Linked DNA regions of Homo sapiens: regions 1 and 2 are each linked to region 3. Evidence: promoter capture Hi-C in 16 types of primary human blood cells and fetal thymus (Javierre and others, 2016). All regions are on one chromosome and are shown on one strand. Each heading gives the region's core, a stretch centred on a gene start or on the middle of the fragment in contact. The rest is flanking DNA. Distances are from core to core; before and after follow the strand shown.

Evidence for each region. Contacts are between HindIII fragments. The CHiCAGO score rates a contact against its expected background, and 5 or more counts as called.
Region 1: a contact is called between a fragment that was not itself captured here and the fragment with the promoter of LUC7L3 in region 3, in 1 of 17 cell types (fetal thymus). The highest score is 9.0, in fetal thymus.
Region 2: a fragment that was not itself captured here is called in contact with the fragment with the promoter of LUC7L3 in region 3 in 1 of 17 cell types (fetal thymus); the score reaches 6.0 in fetal thymus.

What each region holds. Positions count from the first base shown.
Region 1 is chr17:50,859,902-50,864,692 of GRCh38, reverse strand. TOB1 (transducer of ERBB2, 1) reads left to right here. Exons shown (of 2, transcript NM_005749.4): 2 at 530-2,470. The coding sequence starts at 676. The coding sequence ends at 1,713. Among named protein-coding and RNA genes, the nearest start is that of TOB1, 4.1 kb to the left of the region's middle. The HindIII fragment of the contact is 1,068 bases long and covers 735-1,802 here.
Region 2 is chr17:50,947,265-50,952,112 of GRCh38, reverse strand. It overlaps LOC124904029 (a long non-coding RNA gene), which reads left to right and starts at 582. Exons shown (of 2, transcript XR_007065849.1): 1 at 582-1,160; 2 at 1,361-3,060. RefSeq lists enhancers at 1-433, 1,074-1,600 and a silencer at 1,471-1,765. The HindIII fragment of the contact is 604 bases long and covers 2,303-2,906 here.
Region 3 is chr17:50,716,453-50,721,155 of GRCh38, reverse strand. LUC7L3 (LUC7 like 3 pre-mRNA splicing factor) reads right to left here and starts at 1,553. Exons shown (of 10, transcript NM_016424.5): 1 at 1,325-1,553. The coding sequence starts at 1,423. RefSeq lists silencers at 1,217-1,276, 1,617-1,846 and an enhancer at 1,447-1,586. The HindIII fragment of the contact is 10,215 bases long and covers 1-4,703 here.

The DNA of each region.
Region 1 (4,791 bases), core at 19-2,518, 140 kb before region 3:
TTAAAATGATCTTCCTAACGTAACCAAATTTTTAAATGTCAGTGACAGAGCAGATTTAAACAGTATATATCCAAAGTAAACTAAAACATGGATTCACTTCTAAGTTGGTGAATAACAATAAAAATTACTACCTAAAAGTGGCATCTATATATATGGGGGTGGGGGGAGGATGCTGAGTACAATAAATATTCTTGTGAGAACTGAGGAGAGAAGAATGCATGTTCTAGAGATTTTTCTTCTTAGAACTCTATTCAGAAACAGGTTTTTAAAAGCATTATTTCATTTGTAAATCTACATTTTCCTGTGTCATTTTAAACTTTAATAAACGATTTTCTATTTTATGTTTATTTTGTGCTAGTAACAGTTTTCAGGCTTTCTGTCCTAGTAGACATTTTCTTTTTCTTTTTATCCTTAGCAGACTAACACAGGATCTTAGACATTTTGAAAGGTGAAATTACTTTGGAGGGGGGAAGGTCATGGGACTTATATTACATTTATCTTATTTGGATATGTTTGCTTTTGTTTTAAGGAACAAGATCACTCAAGGTGAAGGATAATCTACTAATACCAGCACTTTGAATGAAAATTTGTTTCTCTGCCACAAACTGAACATCTTTTTTTTTTTTTTTTTTTTTTGGTGGGGGAGTTGAAACCTAATTTTGTGGCGTAGCAGCTATGCAGCTTGAAATCCAAGTAGCACTAAATTTTATTATTTCGTATTTGTACAATAAGCTTCCCAGGAGACGTGTCAACATTTTTGGTGAAGAACTTGAAAGACTTCTTAAGAAGAAATATGAAGGGCACTGGTATCCTGAAAAGCCATACAAAGGATCGGGGTTTAGATGTATACACATAGGGGAGAAAGTGGACCCAGTGATTGAACAAGCATCCAAAGAGAGTGGTTTGGACATTGATGATGTTCGTGGCAATCTGCCACAGGATCTTAGTGTTTGGATCGACCCATTTGAGGTTTCTTACCAAATTGGTGAAAAGGGACCAGTGAAGGTGCTTTACGTGGATGATAATAATGAAAATGGATGTGAGTTGGATAAGGAGATCAAAAACAGCTTTAACCCAGAGGCCCAGGTTTTTATGCCCATAAGTGACCCAGCCTCATCAGTGTCCAGCTCTCCATCGCCTCCTTTTGGTCACTCTGCTGCTGTAAGCCCTACCTTCATGCCCCGGTCCACTCAGCCTTTAACCTTTACCACTGCCACTTTTGCTGCCACCAAGTTCGGCTCTACCAAAATGAAGAATAGTGGCCGTAGCAACAAGGTTGCACGTACTTCTCCCATCAACCTCGGCTTGAATGTGAATGACCTCTTGAAGCAGAAAGCCATCTCTTCCTCAATGCACTCTCTGTATGGGCTTGGCTTGGGTAGCCAGCAGCAGCCACAGCAACAGCAGCAGCCAGCCCAGCCGCCACCGCCACCACCACCACCACAGCAGCAACAACAGCAGAAAACCTCTGCTCTTTCTCCTAATGCCAAGGAATTTATTTTTCCTAATATGCAGGGTCAAGGTAGTAGTACCAATGGAATGTTCCCAGGTGACAGCCCCCTTAACCTCAGTCCTCTCCAGTACAGTAATGCCTTTGATGTGTTTGCAGCCTATGGAGGCCTCAATGAGAAATCTTTTGTAGATGGCTTGAATTTTAGCTTAAATAACATGCAGTATTCTAACCAGCAATTCCAGCCTGTTATGGCTAACTAAAAAAAAGAAAATGTATCGTACAAGTTAAAATGCACGGGCCCAAGGGGGATTTTTTTTTTCACCTCCTTGAGAATTTTTTTTTTTAAGCTTATAGTAAGGATACATTCAAGCTTGGTTAAAAAAATAATAATAAAACATGCATCATTTTTCATTTGCCAACCAAGCACAAAGTTATTTTATACTGACTGTATATTTTAAAGTATACTCTCAGATATGGCCTCTTACAGTATTTAAGATATAGCAAGGACATGGCTGATTTTTTTTTATAAAAATTGGCACTAATAAGTGGGTTTATTGGTCTTTTCTAATTGTATAATTTAATTTAGTACAAAGTTTGTAAAATATCAGAGGATATATATATATTGTTTCTACGACATGGTATTGCATTTATATCTTTTTACTACAGTGATCTGTGACAGCAGCAGCTTCATGTTGTATTTTTTTTACTGAAATTGTAAAATATCCATCTTAAAGACATCAACTATTCTAAAAATTGTGTACAGGATATTCCTTTAGTGGTGGAATTAAAATGTACGAATACTTGCTTTTTCAAAAAAATGTATTTTCTGTTAAAAGTTTAAAGATTTTTGCTATATATTATGGAAGAAAAATGTAATCGTAAATATTAATTTTGTACCTATATTGTGCAATACTTGAAAAAAACGGTATAAAAGTATTTTGAGTCAGTGTCTTACATGTTAAGAGGGACTGAAATAGTTTATATTAAGTTTGTATTAAAATTCTTTAAAATTAAAAATGCCTATTGTCTTTGTTTTTAAGTGTTTTCTGAAGATCGACCTCTGGAGTTATTATGTTGTAAATGCTAATGATGGAAAAAGGCCTGACTCATTGAGTCACGAAGGAATAATGGAAAGCAGTTGCTCTACTGATGTACCAGATCGTGGTTTGCCACATAAAAAATGCTATCAAAACTATAGCCTGACCAGTGCTTGGTACAACTTTATTTTTTAACAGCCCTCTTCAGTCCACATTTGTCTACCCCATTATAGAGATGGTATGGTAAGGTTAGCTATACAGCAAGTTTCAAAATGTCATGCTGACATGGAGGAGTCAGGTGATAAGATGAAATTCCTTCGTGTAATCTGAGATGATTTATTTGAAATTTATATGGAGAGAGCATTGGATCAGTTTTCTGTTTTTGCTGAGGAAACTTGCTTGGACAAAACGGCTGACTGAACTTAGAAAAATTTACATCACTTTACTAATCTTTAAAGTTTAGCTATTGCATATAGCTAGAGAACTTATGGTCAAAATCTATTCACGGCTGGACAGATGGTTAGATGTTAGCATTTTCATTTTCCCAGCAAAAACGCTTATGTATTTAATTTTTTGCAAGTGGGTACCCAACCTGCTGGTTTGAAGGATTTAGAGATATTGACAATGTATCAAATTGGAGTGGCTTGGTGAGGATGGAGTTTTTTAAAACTGAAGAGTTGGGGAGAAGAACACTAAATGAGTCATTTCACTAAATGTCAATTGATACAGTATTGACATAGTATTGGTGAGAAAGTTAACGTCCATTTGATACAGTGTTGACATAGTATTGGTGAGAAAGCTGTCTTAAAAAACTTTATATGTACTTTTATAGTAAGAAACCAGCACTGCCTGGGTTACCAGTGAAATAAATTTGGTCTCATGAGCTTTTTGGACACCAGTCTACAAAAGCCTTTTGTCATTTACCCATGCAGTGTAGAGCAATACAAAGTTTTAAGGAAACAAGCACTGGAAATAACAGAGCTAAGCTGTTTGTCAGCTCCATGGTGAGGCTTTTGTTCTTTAGGGAACAGAACGAGGCTATGAAGAAGTATTGGAATAATGGGTGCAAGCAGCAGAGATCTGGTCTGCCAACACTTACCACTTACATGCTTTTGTGATCACGAAGTTTGAATAGCTGTAAGAACCATCAGGATAATGGCTTTAAGCACTAGTTTCTGCTACAGACTGATAAAGTTACATTTGGGAGAAAACTCTACTTATAAATGAAGGCTCAAGTGTAATGTGCTTTTTCTGAAAATCATAAGGCAGCTGGACGGAACATAATAGAATTTTTTTTTTTTTTGAGACGGAGTCTCTTGCTCTGTCACCCAGGCTGGAGTGCAGTGGCACCATCTCGGCTCACTGCAACCTTCCACCTCCCAGGTTCAAGTGATTCTCCTGCCTCAACTTCCCGAGTAGCTGAGACTACAGGCGCCCGCCACCATGTTGGCTAATTTTTGTATTTTTAGTAGAGACGGGGTTTCACCATGTTGACCAGGCTGGTCTCGAACTCCTGGCCTCAAATGAGCTGCCTGCCTTGGCTTCCCAAAGTGCTCTGATTACAGGCATGAGCCATTGCGCCTGGTCAACAATAGAATTTGAAACTGTCTGGAGCACTAATATATTCATTTTATTTTGAGACAAGGTCTCACTCTGTCACCCAGGCTGGAGTGCAAAGGGGCCATCTTGGCTTACTGCAACCTCCACTAAAGCGATTCTCCTGTCTCACTCTCCTGAATAGCTGGGATTATAGCTGCGTGCCACCGTTCCCTGCTAATTTTTGTATTTTTTGTAGAGGCAGGGTTTCGCCACGTTGCCTGGGCTGGTCTCAAACTCCTGAACTAAGGTGATCCGCCCGCATTGGCCTCCCAAAATGCTGAGATTACAGGCGTGAGCCACCACACCCAGCCAAGCACTAATATATTCAGATTTTAAATACTGAGGTTAACATAAGCCTGAATATCTGTTTCAGATCTTAAGGATATATGTATCGACAAAAATCTTAGGGAAATTTCATCTTGGTACATATGTTTGACATCGGAGAATGACTAACTCAAAATGTGATCTTGATTGGTTTTATTAAAACTTGAGCTTGGTGTCCTTGAGAACTTCATCTTTTTTTTTTTTTAGACAGAGTCTCGCTCTGTTGCCAGGCTGGAGTGCAGTGGTGAAATCTTGGCTCCCTGCAACCTCCGCCTGTCGGGTTCAAGTGATTCTCCTGCCTCAACCTCCCAAGTAGCTGGGACTACAGACGCGCGCCACCACGCCCAGCTAATTTTTATAGTTTTAGTAGAGACGAGA
Region 2 (4,848 bases), core at 1,355-3,854, 230 kb before region 3:
CCTGACTCAGCTGGCTGGATACCAGCTGTGGTTGTCCCATCCCAGAACATACTTCCTGTGACTGAGTGACCACCACACTTACCCAAGCATACCTGCCCCTGAAAGCAGAGGAAGGGGCCCAGAGGACTCAAGAGCTGGCCTTTTGTTCTGAGTTCTAGAATGCCGTGATGGTGGAGGAGGGGAGTGGAAGAGCTTCAAGATTTCAGGAACTTCCAAGTCCCTGGCTTTGTAGCATGTTGTAAAGACACGTGGGCCTCAGTTTCCCTGCTTATAAAATGAGAGCATTGGACTGGATGATTTCTAATAATCCATACCCATTGAGCATTTCTTTTTTTTTGAGACGGAGTCTCGCTCTGTCACCCAGCCTGGAGTGCAGTGGTACGATCTCAGCTCACTGCAAGCTCCGCCTCCTGGGTTCACGCCATTCTCCTGCCTCAGCCTCCCGAGTAGCTGGGACTACAGGCTCCCGCCACCACGCCCGGCTAATTTTTTTGTATTTTTAGTAGAGATGGAGTTTCGCCATGTTAGCCAGGATGGTCTCGATCTCCTGACCTCGTGATCCGCCTGCCTCGGCCTTCCAAAGTGCTGGGATTACAGGCGTGAGCCACCGCGCCCGGCCCGAGCATTTCTTACGTGATAGGGTCTTCATGTCCATTCTATCATTTAATTCTTTTTTATTTTATTTATTTATTTATTTATTTTTGAGATGGAGTCTGGCTCTGTCGCCCAAGCTGGAGTGCAGTGGCACATCTCAGCTCGCTGCAACCTCCGCCTCCTGGGTTCAAGCGGTTCTCCTGCCTCAGTCTCCGGAGTAGCTGGGACTACAGGCATGGCTAATTTTTGTATTTCTAGTAGAGACGGGGTTTCACTATGTTGGCCAGGCTGGTCTGGAACTCCTGACCTCAGGTGATCCTCCCACCGGGGCCTCCCAAAGTGCTGGGATTACAGGCATGAGCCACCACACCCAGCCTATCATTTAATTCATGCAATGCCCTAGGAGAGAGGGGCTGTGATTATTAGCCTCACATTACAGCTGAGGAAGCTGAGACTCAGAGAGTTTAAGTAACTTGCCCAGGGTCGCGAGGCCAGTAAGTGGAAGAGGGGTGGGTCCCCTGCCCAGGTCTGACCCAGCAGCATCGTTGAGGATGTCAGTGACGCAGGTGAGAGGCTACGAGTGTCCAGGAGAGTAATGCAAGGGTGACCTGCGGAGGGAGGAGGGGCAAGATCAGGCACCCCGCCCAGTGTGGGGAGCGGCTGAAGATGACTCGGAGGTTTGGAGGGTGGCGGTGCTATTAATAGAAATAGGGAAGTCAGGAGGAGGAGCCGGTTTAGGGCTAGAAGATGATGAATTCATTCTTAGGCATGTGGACACGGATTTGCTGACAGTGGGACCTTTAGGCCAAGATCCAGCCACAGTTCAATTAGGAAAAATCAGCACCTACGAAGTACCTCTAAACGCCAGCAACAGCCTTACCAAGATCAAATCCCCAAACCACTCACACGGCAAGGCTTCCCAAGTCACTGGCTGTGGGCTGAGGCTGCAGTGATGAGTCTGCAGCAGCCATGCCCACGGCTCAGGTTCAAGTCCTGCACTGACCACTGGGGGTCACCGCTGGCGCGCAGACCTGGTGCAGCCGTCCAGGGGGTGCCTGCGGCAAGGCCGACCTAGGGGAAGGGGCGCAGTGGGTTTCAGGGAGCCAGGCTCCCCCTCGACAGGGAGGCAGAGATCTCTTCCTCCTCTTACAGGGGTGGGAGGGAGAGAGGCTGGCAACTGCTTCTTCCAGGCTGTCATCTGGCAACAGTTTTCAGGGCAGCCTGATTAACCTTGAATCTAGTTCTGTTGACGTAGCACCAGGGGAAGGGTGAGGGAGCAGAGCCCCCTTCCCTGAGTTGGCAATGAAGCTCTAGGGGCCTGCCTGGGGGACATCGTGTCCGGGGCAACCGGGGCAACCAGGGCCTGCGACCTGGGGCAGTGGAGCCTGGGAGCTGAGTCCCAGCTGTTCCAAGCCTCATGTCTCCCCTGGCATCTGCGTCAGCAGCTCTGCCCTTTGACTTTTAATTCCCAGGAGAGGAGGGTGGAGGCAGTCTTGGCCATCGGGACTAATTATTTGTGATTCGATTCAACCAGCAGTTTATTGGGGTTTGGACTGGCTTCCTGCTCTCCTCTCAGCCTCCCACACCCCAGCTTTATGGCCCTGTTCTCCTTCGGAAGCTGAGAACAGAGAGCAGGAGTGGCTCTGCAGCAGACACCCCGGTTCCTCTTGGTCTCCTGATCTCGGGATGTCCTGTGGGAAGTTAAGCTTATAAAATGCTTTGAGTCCCTAGAGAGAGGTGGCCCCAAGCTCATGCCCAGCCCAGGCCCTGGGCCCTCCTAGGCCGGCCTCCTGTTCTACCTGGGCTTGTTCGGACCTGTCCCCAGGTGGGCCGGGCTGGGCCAGGAGAGGGGCGCCAGCCTCCCAGCTGTCCAGGTTAGGGGGTGCAGGGCTCAGAAGGGATGGGGGTGGAGCAGGCACCGTGGAACCTGCGAGGCTCCCAGGCCCCAGGGCCCCTGTCAGCGTCTACTGTCCCTCTATATTCGGCCACAGCGTTATTGCCATGTCCTCTCGGGACAGGCAGCCAGCCCGACCCATGATGTCTCCTCCAAGGGCCTGGACTATTTTGGAACCAGCCTTGGGGGTGCTGGGGGAGGCCGAGGTGGGGTTTAAGGGAAGATTGCCTCGCGGCTCCCGGTCAGGGATGAGCAGAGGGTGTGTGGCATGGGGAACTGGCCCCTAGGCCCTTCTCAGAATTCCCAGTACAGTTACGTGAATGTTCCTTCTGCTCAGGTTTCCTGGGGATGCCTAGGCTGGGGCCTCAGGGGCTGAGTCTGGGCAAGAACCCAGCCCCTCCTCCCCCCGGGAGAAGCTTCCAGCTGTTTAGATTCATCCCTCAATTAAAAAACATTGCCCCCCTGTGCCAGGTTTCACCCAGAGCCACGTACAAGCTAGCCCAGTGGGTCTCAGCCTTTCGGATTTCTCACATCACTAACATTTCAAAAAAATAAAAAAATTTAGGATCTGACGTCGTCACCAGTTTTGTTTTTGCGACAGAGCCTCGCTGTGTCACCCAGGCTGGAGCGCAGTGGTGCCATCTCAGCTCACTGCAACCCCCGCCTCCTAGGTTTAAGCGACTCCTGTGCCTCAGCTTCTCGAGTAGCTGGAATTACAGGCGTCCGCCACCATACCCAGCTAATTTCTGTATTTTTAGTAGAGATGGGGTTTCACCATGTTGGCCAGGCTGGTCTCAGACTACTGGCCTTAAGCGATCTGTCCACCTCGGCCTCCCAAAGTGCTGGGATTTCAGGCATGAGCCACCACACCAGCTAGTCACCAGTTTTTTTATTTTGCTGAGTTTGAGGTCATTAAAAGGAAATGTCAAAGGAAAGGTCCTTTTGTGCTCACACACACAGACACACACAGACACAGACACACACACACAGACACACACACGATTGAAAATACAAAGCTCAGATAAAAGGACAGTCTTTTGGATTGAGTAAACCTAGCTTTAGTAAAACCTCACTATATTGTCCTTATTTTTCTCATTTTGCTGCTGGCAGATGAGAACATGGCGATGGCTGGCACTGGGCACCGGCTGAGGGACTTGTGCTCCAGGAACTGTTGGTCTTGCCACTCCTCCGCCTGGGCCCAGTGCCAAGGGCAGCCAGCTCTGCTCCGGGGAACCCCTCCCCAGCACGTATCTCCCAATCTCTCATGCACCGGTCACTGCCACTTTTGCTTCTATCTTCCTGTCCTCCATGCCCCTCCCCCAATATTTGCAGGAGGGGGAAGGTGGGGAGCAGGCTTCACACAGCTCCCAGACTAAAGATGGCACCGCTAGCCGATCACTGCAGCCCAGAGTCCACCCATGGGGAAGTCACACGTCGCCCGCTCCTTGGAGGGGGTCTCTGCTGTGGAAGGTGCTGGTCTGGGCAGGGTCAAGAATTCCAGAGTGGCCACCGCTTCCTGGCCATGGGATCTGAGATGAGTCCCAGAACCTCCTTCCTTGAGCTTCAGCTTCTTGTTCTATAAAATGGGCATATTAACTCCTCATCACAGGGCTGGTGCAAGGGTGGTGTGAGTGACAGAATGTTTGTGAAAGTCCTTGCTGAGCTATAAAGCTTAGGTAGGGGTAGTTATTATTACGATGGGAAACTAGTAAATGGCTGAAGAAAGAGCAGCCCAAAAGCTGACCTCAGCCTCTGGGTACGAAGACAGTGCTCACACCCACCCCCAGGTCTGTGATCTGGGGCCCCTCCAGCCCCACAGAGGAGCAACGCCAGCCTGACCCCATGAGTCAGCAATGCCAGGGCTGGACCACGGCATTCTGGAAGTCGGAACTAGGCCTAGTCTGTGTTGGAGACAGGGTCTGCTGTGTTTTTGGAGAGAGGGTCTGCTTCTGTTGACTTGTAGTGGCCCCACTATGTGGTTATTGCAGCCGACGGCCCCTCAAATTGTAGAGAAGTGTGCGAAGGGCCTCCCCAAGGCGGAGCCCCTTTTGGATGGATGGAGGTTTGAGGATTCAAGGTGTTCGCGGAGGATCGGATTTTAAGGGCTGTCCCCGCCCCCGCTGTGTCACTGTGGGGCAGTGTGGGAAACACGCCCACCCATGTTCCTAGTCCAGTTCACCATTCACTCTAGCTGTGTGGCTGCCTCTCCCAGCCTCAGTTTCCTCATCTGTCAAATAGGGACAAGAGGCCTTACCTTCCAGGGCTGTTGTTAGCTTATTGGGACCCCATGCAACAGTCCCTGGAGGGTTTTCAGTCCAAGGGAGCCCCCTGCAGACCCTCCAGGAGGTCCTCCCCACAAA
Region 3 (4,703 bases), core at 304-2,803:
CTAACACATTTGCAAAGTTTAGACTGAAAGGTTACAGAGTCAGGTAGTTAAAAAAAAAAAAAGTTACTTCGCTATAACAAAGATGCCTACAAAAGAAAGATGGTCAAGGTAAGCAGTTCCTTAGTCTCCTATTGTGACAAATGGTCGGGGGGATGGGGAGCCTAAATGTTAAAAACAAAAAACCCACCTCTTAAAAACAATAAATTCTACTCTAAGAATGTTTCATACTACTTTGGAATCAGTTAGCACCCCAACACAACTTGAGCCAAACTTACTCTTTCTTAAAGTCCTAAAAGGAGTCATCTAGCACCAACTTGCTTTCCTACACTGCAAAAAAGAAATTTTACCTTAACCAAAGCCTACGTTTAAAAAGAGTAAGAAAACAGTTTTCTAAAGAAGCATGCATTACCTGAACTATTCCTTCCTATTTTGATTAGCAATTGTTTTAAAATTAGCATGTTAGATTATAACCTCAAAGTAAAATTAAATTCTGTATCTATTCTCCAGATAAGACCTAAAGTAAACATTACACTGCATGTTCAAAACTAGATCAAAACACTTGAAATGCTACAGTAGGTGCAGAGAACCAGTTTCATAGGATTGTGGAAAGCTAACAGAACTACAAAGATTAGTTTCCTCAGTTGCCAAGACTTTGGGTGAGCCTTTTTAAGTCTCACCAGTGAAACTGGGGTTATAATATTTACCTTTACTCCCCGGGCTAAGAGCATCAAATGAGTTTTATGTGGAAGAAAAAACCTTGACAGCTGCCTCTATAAGGGACTTCTTAGAATACTGTTAACGAACAATACTTGTAAATCATCACGGTAAACCCTAACAAGTAAACGACTTCTTTTACATTTCTATTTCCCCGTATAAGCGTCATGCTGTAATTACTTAAATAAAATACCGCCACGATTTTTACCATGAATCCTGGTCAGAAATTTTAGTCTAAATACGACGTTCAACCCAAACTATAGAAAAATGTGCCCTTCTCCCTATTTCATAATGAGGTGAAACCTCGGAGCCGCTAGATTTAATAAGACGCTGCTATCCTTCTTTCCCGCGTTTCCCCGCCTCATCAAGGTGCTTTTCAATTATGCCAAGGGCTCTCCCGGACCCCCTTGATACTAGAACAACAAAACCAAATCACCCCCATCCCCGGGTCCGGACAGCATCCTCCCTCCTGGCTCCATGGGCACCGGGTCAGACGCTCGACCCCGGGTGCGGCCCTGGCCACATCGCGCCGCGGCCAGGAGGGCCACAGCCCGCGCCCGCTCCCCTCCCCCACGGAGCCCGGGCTCAGGCCAAGGCCCGCGGGACTTACGCTCTCGTGGTCCCACCGCACGTTGCTGCGCTTCTCGTCCGGGGCTAGGTTTCGGTCCCGGCCCATTAACTCATCCAACAACTGCGCGGCCGAAATCATGGTGCTTCCTTCGGGCGGCTGTTCCCACCAGCCCAGGCACCCGCCAACGAAAACACGGGCGACACCGTCGCCAATCTCCTCGGCCCGCTCTCAGGCCGAAATCCCTCCTACACACAGGAGCCGACAAGACAAAATGGCCGCCGCGCGGACGCCTTCCCAGCATGCCGTGCGCCCGTGGGACACGCCCAGGCCCGGGCGGAGAGGGCGAGCTCGGCTTCCGCCGTCCGGGGGCGGGGCCCGCGGAGGCCGGGTAGGGACTCCGCCCCTGTCTAGAGGCCGCGGGGACGGGTAGCCTCTGCCCGCGCGCCTCCCCAAGCGCCCGGTTTTCCCGAGCTTCTTCACGGTGAGAAATTGGAGCCTAGGTCTTGAAGCCTGGACACCGCTTCAAAATGGAGAAAGTGTCTCCTTTAGTCCACGTGGTGCACATGGTGCCTCATGCAGCGGAGGAAACTGAAGATTACGGCTTCCGACTCCATTTTCCTAGTCGCTGTGCTCACGCCTCTTGCACCTGGCTTTGTCCTCCCGCCCTGAGTCTCCTGATTAACAGGATGGGAAATCGAGGCAAGAAGAGACAAGGCGGCTTCTAAAATACGGGGATTCAGTCCTACACCAAATGTCTCCCAGTGTGGAATTTTTTAAAAAGATATTGATCCAGTAGGCCAGGTGAGGTGGCTCACGCCTGTAATCACAGCACTTTGGGAGGCCGAAGCGGGCGGATCACCTGAGGTCGGGAGTTCGAGATCAGCCTGACCAACATGGAGAAACCCCGTCTCCACTAAAAATACAAAATTAGGTTGGCGTGGTGGCGCATGCCTGTAATCCCAACTACTCAGGGGGCTGAGGCTGGAGAATCGCTTGAACCCGGGAGGCGGAGGTCGCGGTGAGCCGAGATCGCGCCATTGCACTCCAGTCTGGACAACAAGAGCAAAACTCCATCTCAAAAAAAAAAAAAAAAAAAAAAAAAATATATATATATATATATATATATATACACACACACACACACACACACATACACACACACACACACACATATATATAGATAGGTAGATCCATTTATTCAACAAATGGTATGTGCCAGGCACTGTGCTTAAAGCTAAACTCAGAACCTTTCAGACAGTCCATGCTCCCGCAGACCTGTGCATTGGCGAGGGGAGATAATCGCTGAAGAAATAAAGTCACAAATATATCAACGTATGTTGGGATAATGCTTTAGCACAGTTAAGGGTATGGTCTCTAAAGCCAGATTGCCTGGGTTCGTAATCCCAGCTCTGCCGCTCTGTGCCTTTGTTTCCTTTTCTGTAAAATGGGGTTTACAATAGTCCTCCCCCGGCCCCCAGCCACGATGCTATTGTGAAGATTAAATGAGTTTATACAATGTAAGGCACTACACATTGATAACAAGCCCAACACTTTTATTTTTGGGGGGACTGGGTCTGGCCCTGTCACCCAGGCTGGAGTGCAATGGCACGATCTCAGCTCACTGCAGCTTCAACCTCCCGGGCTCAGGCGACCCCCTCGCCTCAACCTCCCCAGTAGCTGGGACTACAGGCGCATGCCACCACGCCCGGCTAAGTTTTTGTATTTTTGGTAGAGACGGGGTTTCGCCAAGTTGCCCAGGCTGGTCTTGAACTCCTGAGCTCAAATAATCCACCCACCTCAGCCTCCCAAAGTGTTGGGATTACAGGCGTGAACCACCGCGCCCGGTCGTGGACACCTCTTTTTAAGAAGGAAAGCAGCAAAATAGGGTGAGAACTCAAAGGAGGTATGGGACATGAAGCCTTTTTTTTTTTTTTTTTTTTTTTTTGAGCTATCGCTCAGGCTGGAGTGCAGTGGTACCATCTTGGCTCACTGCAACCTCTGCCTCCCGGGTTCAAGTTTATCCTGCCGCAGCCTCCTGAGTAGCTGGGATTACAAGCACCCGCCACCACGCCCAGCTAATTTTTGTACTTTTAGTAGAGACGGAGTTTCGCCATGTTGGCCAGGCTGATCTCAAACTCCTGACCTCAGGTGATCCACCTGCCTCGACCTCCCAAAGTTCCCAAAGTGCTGGGATTACAGGCGTGAGCCACCAAGTGGGGCTGGAGCCTTTTTGAAGATAGGAAATTAGAGGCTAGACATGGTGGCTCACGCCATAATCCCACTACTTTAGGGAGGCAGAGGCAGGGAGATAGCTTGAGGCCAGGAGTTTAAGACCTGCCTGGGCAACATAACAAGACGCCATTCTCCACAAAAAGGAAAAAAAAAGAAAAGACCAAAAAAAAAAAAACCCCAAACGTAGGAAATGAGAGAATGTTTAATGTTGGGGATATTCCAGTAGAGAGGTGGAAAATAAAAGAAGGGGATAGTTAATGACTTAAAATCTTAAAAAGGTAACGGGTTGGGTCCTGGCGTGGTGACTCACGCCTGGAATCCTAGCACTTTGGGAGGCAGAGGTGGGTCATTTGAGGTCATGGGTTCGAGACCAGCCTGGCCAACATGGGGAAACCCTGTCTCTACTAAAAACACAAAGGATAGCCAGGCGTGGTGGTGGCGCCTGTGATCTCAGCTACTCGGGAAGCTGAGGCAGGAGCATCGCTTTAAACAGTGGACTGTCAAGAGACTTAGGCTGTAGTGAGCCAAGGTCGCGCCACTGCACTCCAGCCTGGGCAACAGAGTGAGTGAGACTGTGTCTTAAAAAAAAAAAAAAAGTAATGGGTTAGGCTCCAGGGCATATTTGAAACCTCTGGCCTTTGATAGGAGAAAGGATCTTCTCCACTGAAACAAGAAAGAAGAAAATCAATTTACAGATTTAGCAGTGAGATGAGGCAGTTCTCAGCTGTTGGTTACAGTTTTCCCAATGAAGCATTTATTGAGGGCTCTCCACTGTTACTACCACCAAAAAAAAAAAGGCCGGCCACAGTGGCTCACACCTGCAATCCCAGCACTTTGGGAGGCCGAGGCAGACAGATCATGAGGTCAGGAGATCAAGACCATCCTGGCTAACACGGTGAAACCCCGTCTCTACTAAAAATACAAAAAATTAGCCGGGCATGGTGGCGGGCGCCTGTAGTTCCAGCTACTCCAGAAGCTGAGGCAGGAGAATGGCATGAACCCGGGAGGCGGAGCTTGCAGTGCGTCGAGATTGCACCACTGTACTCCAGCCTGGATGACAGACTGAGACTCCGTCTAAAAAAAAAAAAACTGAACCACAAACAAACAGGACTGCACACATCATGAACCGCAAACACACAACCAGATTGCAAAATTACAGTTCCTGCCCATCACAGGTTCTTAATCT